2 separate regions of the Homo sapiens genome follow, and region 2 is linked to region 1. Evidence: promoter capture Hi-C in 16 types of primary human blood cells and fetal thymus (Javierre and others, 2016). All regions are on one chromosome and are shown on one strand. The core of a region is centred on a gene start or on the middle of the fragment in contact, and the rest is flanking DNA. Distances in the headings are between cores, read along the strand shown.

Region 1 (3,030 bases), core at 472-2,971:
TCATCTCCCTTATTTATTGATCAATGACACTCACATCATTTTAGGTATAAGGCAGACAACCTTGACAACGCCAATGCTGGAAAAAGGACGTTTTACATACTAAGATGGGGTGTCCCAAACTCACTCCAAAATGCCCTCTGCAACACTATTTTAAAAAAGAACTAAAAATGGAACTTTCCCATGTCTTCCAACTTGATTAAAAAACACCTATCCATTCAAGGAAGGGACAATCCAGAATCTAAGAATTATAACAGATATGATTATAAAAGAATAAATTAAAGTAAGGTAAGGTGAACTTCGACACATTATTATTTATTTACTTCCTTATATCACTTGCTGATGGATGGGATGTCAACTTTAAATCAGTGACTGCCAATATTCCGATAATGTCAGGGATACAAAGGGTGGGAGAAGAGTTGAATTTTACCACCATAAATAAGTATCCAATATCACTTTCTCAGAAAAATTTTCAACAATTCTATTGCACTAGACTTTGTAGCACAGTAAGAATCAGATACATGTTGATTACAATATGAACTCATATTCAATTCCTAGCTCCCTGACCACCAGCAAATCACTGAAGCTTTGTAGGCCTCAGTTTCTTCACATTTAAAATGAGGATTAGGAATATCTACCTTACAGGAATAAAGAAATGAAGTAACACATGTAAAACCCCCAGTAGAGTGCCAAGCACACAGCAAGCACCCGTGTGTTACGTAGTATTGTTACTACTATTATCCTGTCATCAGTAAGTGTTGCAGGTAACTGAAAGCAATTCTGAGATGTTTATCATCCATAACAGTCCTCAAGAAAATACCCAGAGGCCTTGAAAATAAAGTTCTTGAATGAGTGATTTTCTTCAAAGCCCAAAATGCGATTTTTTTAATGAAACACTGTGTTAAAAGTACAGAACGGTAGTTTAGAAAGGTAGCTCTTGAATGTGACTCACAAGGCATACCAACAGGACCCTGTCTTTTACGGGGATCACATGGGGCTGTACTATCAGCTAGGGGCTGGCTGTGCCCTCTGGTGGTTGGATACTGTGTTACTTGGTCTCTAGAACCTCACACTTAAAAGTCAGACAAGTGTCCTCAAATACTTAAATCACAGAATTTTAATTCTAGCGAGTCCTTGGTTATTATTCTGAGGGAAGATTTCTACAGTCAAAAGAGAACCAAACGTGCAGCGTCCTGGAAAACCTAAGTATTAAAATTCGCCCCCGTCCACTGTACTTGACAGTAAAAGGCATGATTCTCTCAAAGCCATACATATTCCTGGACTCCTGCCTCCCGAGACTCCAGGAGGACTCTCGGGACTGGCCAGTGTCCCAGAGCACTGAGCGTTATCAGTCCTTGGTGTGGCTGCAGGGAGCGGACGTTCAGTGTTCAGGCTGCCGGCAGCAGTGGGATGTGTTGGGGGGGACCGGAGAGGTCTGTCACTCACCATTTTCCTCCAAGGGGATTTATTCTCCAAAAATTTATTCCAGAATTTCTCCATAGGCCCCATCTTCTGTGGGGGCAGCACCGGCTCCCGAGGGCTCAGCTCCTGGTCCTTCAGCCATCGCCTTCTCAGCTCTCGCAGCTGCTGCAGCCGCAGTTTCTCATCCGGAGTGTACCCCGTCATGTCGCCGCTGGTACCAACGCAAAAGGACACGGCGCACCCTCGAACTACGGACTAGTTACTTAAGCGCGCTCCCGCTCTGCAAAGCGACCTTGCGGGAACGCCGAGCGCCGCGCGCGGTTATTACGTCACATCCTGGTTCCGCCTCTGCAAGGGCCCCAGATTCCTCGCGAGGAAAGCAGTGTGTGGGCATGCACAAAGGTCTCCACCTCCAGTTCTCTCTACGCCCACCTCCGCTATACCCGACCAAATTAGGACCGGGTGGGGACAAGGAGTACTCGTAGTTGTGGGGCCTGAGGAAAGTGACAGATTAGACGAAAGTATGCTAAATTAGAGGACTGGAGGTTTTGCTAAGGAAGAACTTGTATGCTGGGAGGAGGAAGGATAAGCATAAATGTTTCAGTGAATATGCTGGCCAGATTCAAAATTATTTGCTTGCCTCTCCCACCTTGGAATGACCTAGAGAGTGTATGAAAATAGTTACATCCCAGTTCAAATCCCAGCTATGCCAGTAACTGCTGAAGTGCCCTGGGCAGCTGTCTCATCTGTCCCTCCATCTGTACAGGAATAGTGAAAAGAGTAGCTTAATATCTAGCAAAATTGCATAGATGAATTCATGCTTTCACCCAAAAATACGTGTGGTGAAAATATGAAAGAGCATGCACGACTATTCAGCACGATTCATAATACCAAAATATTGGAAATTACCCCCAAATTCCTAAATAAAGGACTGCTTGAATAAATTGTAGTACAACAGTCAAAAGACAGCATTACAACGAATTAGTTTAAAAATCTTAATTGACTCTTATTCGTGATTCTAGAATCAAAAAACACCTCATTCTATAAAGTAGAATGAGTGTTCTGATCAGCTGAGCAGAGGCGGTTGGTTTTATTGGCAAATAGGGGCTGAAGAAAGCAGAAACCGAACAAAAAGTGGACTCATCGTTTCAAAGTTACTTTTAGGGTTAAAGCAGAAGAAACTTCCTTGTTTCACTGACTCAGACTTAAGGGAATTTCCTATTTTTTGGGAAACTGGCCCATTTCAAAGTTCAGTTTGATTGTGTGGTACTTAGCACAAACGACTCCATTCTGGTTTGGTCTGGTCTGCTGGGGCCTAGTGCGTGAAGCTAGTCCAAAACAGTGGCTTCCCAAAAACTTTCACACAACAAAGCAATGAAATGCTAATACAATCGTCAAAAGTAATAAGGAAGAACTCTATATACATCTGTGGTGTGATCTCCAGAATACATTACAAAGTGGAAAAAAAATGGATAGGAATTTGTACAGTATGCTTTTACCCAAAAAGAGAAAGATGGTGGTAATTTCAATATATATACATATTTTCTTAAATTTTCAAAATAATGGGAATGAAAACAATTGAGGTTTTTAAAGATGCTACCTATGGTGGAG
Region 2 (2,998 bases), core at 243-2,742, 5.7 Mb before region 1:
TACACTCTTCAGGCCTATTCAACAACCCTACCTACACTTATTGTATCTAAGATTCATTTTAAGTATAACTTATTTAAAACATTTCCACATCACTTCCATTCTCAATCCTCCTAAAATTAACCACTTCTTTTTTTGCAACCCACTATTCTCCCTACAGAGTGTCCAGAACTCTTTACTGCAGGCACTTGCTCAGTATCTTCTCCAATATACTGTTAGTTCCCAGGAACTATGCATATATATTTTTGTAGTCTCAACACCTGATACATTACCTGGAAGAAGCTAGGGATGCAAATATTTGTTAAAATTCTAAACTGATAATTTCAGGACCCACACAGAGCTTCTTTCTCTATCACCCTTGTGGCAAATTGCATTAATGACCCCAGTTCTTCACCTCTCCCTATATCCACAGCTTGCCATGTAATTTGGCAGTGCCCTCCTGCTACAGGTGAGACCTAATTCCCTACCCTTCTGCTACGCCATCTAACTTACTTTGGCCAAATGGATGTTAGCAGATGTGCAGCAAGTGGAGTCTCAAAAAAAGCTTGTGCAATTAGGATGGTTGACTTGTGCTTCCACCATTATCATAAAAATTATATACCCAAAGTGGCCCACTGGTCCTAGAAGAAAGATGAGCAACAAGTAGAGCAGAGCTGCCTCAACTAAGCTACTCAGACGAGCCTAGCCTAGAGCTGAGTCCTCAGACAACCTGTAGAAACATGAATGAGCCCAGCCAGGACCATCCTACCCCAAGCTTGAAACTCCTGAGCTAAATAAAAACTATTATTTTTGTTGTTGGTTGTTGCACAGTATTACTGTGGCTATAGTTAACCAATGTGCACTCTGTCTAAAAGAGACCCTTTCCCTGTATTTCTCTGTTAGCAGTAAGAAGTCTTCAAAACTGGTTTGATATTGTCACTATTCGATACACAGAAGTCTTACAAGAAATCATGAGACCACTGCTAGGGCTGTAGTATGCATATATGTGATTTTTACAGTCCAACAGAAACACTTTCTTGCTGGGTCCTGGGGCACTATACGAAGTTTAAAAGAAGGGTAAGGATTTTGAGTTCTAAACAACTTTATAAATGTCCTTCAGGATTACCCCCTGCCCCAAGGGCATTTCTTCCACAGTAGAAATAAAACCAAATTACTTTTTTCCCCCTTTTGTTTGTTTTTGTAAAGGCAATTATTCTTATTATTAAAGAACATGGTAGCCTTGTATTGTCTTTGGAAGAAATGCTTGCTGAGCATTTATGTGGCCATCATTTTGCTAGGCTTTTACATGAATCTTAAATTATTCATCTGTCATATGAAGTCCCACTGAACAGATGACTGACTGAGGCTGAGGTTAAGCAACTTGCCTTAATTCATTACTAAGTGATGGTAAGGCTATTGGAATATATGCCTTTTGAACTCCAAAGCCAGTGCTCCTTCACTATATTATACTGCAGCTTTGGTTGCTATTACTACTGAAAATTTTGAATAATATAGAAATAAGTGAACATTTATTGAATTTATTAGTTCCTTTGAGGACACAGGAATGAAAGAAATGTCATTTAATGGCTTAAAACCACTTTCTTTTGATCCATGTCATTCTTATATGGCACTAGCAGCCACTGTAGTTGCTATTAAAGTGGCTACTACAAACTGGTATTTTTCTTCATATTGATATCCAGTTTTGGCAACATCATTGATTAAATACTGTTATCTTCTCCATTGTTTGGTTACTACTGACTTGTCATACAGATTTGACTTCTTTCAGTTTCTACACCTGTGTAATACCTACCTCATAGAGATAATGAGGATAAACTATGCATATACAACTAGAAAAGAATAAGTGCTTAATGCAGGCTGCCTAGTTGTTCTTTGCATTGTTATTTGGTTTGATTTAAATCAAGTTGCAAACTGTTGTGGTAAATGTTGCTACATAACTTGAAATGTGATGATCACAGCCATTCGGACATTTTATTTTTCTGATTTATCAAGTGTCCAGGAATTCCAAGGTCAGGTTTTAAGCCCCAACATCTCATTTTAGGCCTAGGACCAATATTAGACTATCTACTTTACAAAAGGACTTTAGGCAACTTTCTCCTCTTTACAGCTTCCATTACCCACCTTATTCTGAAGACTATTTTACCCCTTAAGGAAGCTCATATATGATATAATCAAGACAAAATAACAAGTACATATCACCTGTAAAGTATTCCTACAAATAGTTTAATCTCAGTGGAAACAAGCTTTCAGTTTATAGGAAATAGATGTTGCAGGCCGACTCCAAGATAGCCCCCAGTGATCCCTCCCCTACTGGTATTCACTGCCTTGCATAATCTACTCCCCTTGATTAACTTCCAACCAATACAATACCTTGATGTTGAGATGTCACTTCTGTGATTAGATTATAAAGATTCCAACTTTGGTCCTGCCAGCAGTCTCTCCCTTGCTGGCTTTGATGAAGCAACTTGCCACACTGGGGAGGCCCATATAGCAAAACTCAGAGAGGGCAGTCTTTGGCCAACAGCTAGCTAGGAATTGAGGTCCTCAGTCCAACCCCAAAAGATCTAAACAACAACGATGTGAGCTTGAAAATGAAACCTTCCTCAGTAGAGCCTTTAGATGAGACACCAGCCTTGGCTGATACTTTACAGCCTCAAGAGGATCCACCTAAGCTGTGTTAGGATTCCTGAACCACAGAACATTTGAGATAATATGTGCTATTTTAATCCACAAAGTTCTGGGGTCATTTATTAAGCAGCAATAGATAACCAATACTAAAGGGTTGTAGAAAAATATTTTACAAACACAAAATGTGAGGTGCTTCACATGCTGGAGTGCCCTAAACATTTCAAAAAGTCACTGATAGTTTTAAAATATGAAAGACTATTCTAGATTAAGAAGTCAAAGAAGCATATATCTAAACTATTCATAGATACAGTACACAAACCTTGATTATTTAGATCTTTTTAAAGCAAGTTATAAAAGGCATTCTTAGAGCAATGAG

The links. The method cuts DNA at HindIII sites, captures the fragments that hold promoters and counts their contacts. A CHiCAGO score of 5 or more calls a contact.
Region 2: a contact is called between a fragment that was not itself captured here and the fragment with the promoter of NDUFB6 in region 1, in 1 of 17 cell types (activated CD4 T cells). The highest score is 6.4, in activated CD4 T cells.

The regions. Positions count from the first base shown.
Region 1 is chr9:32,571,438-32,574,467 of GRCh38, forward strand. It overlaps NDUFB6 (NADH:ubiquinone oxidoreductase subunit B6), which reads right to left and starts at 1,722. Exons shown (of 4, transcript NM_002493.5): 1 at 1,444-1,722. The coding sequence starts at 1,623. RefSeq lists enhancers at 1,270-1,809, 2,080-2,129. The HindIII fragment of the contact is 6,496 bases long and covers 582-3,030 here.
Region 2 is chr9:26,898,873-26,901,870 of GRCh38, forward strand. No RefSeq gene overlaps it. Among named protein-coding and RNA genes, the nearest start is that of CAAP1, 7.6 kb to the left of the region's middle. The HindIII fragment of the contact is 1,486 bases long and covers 750-2,235 here.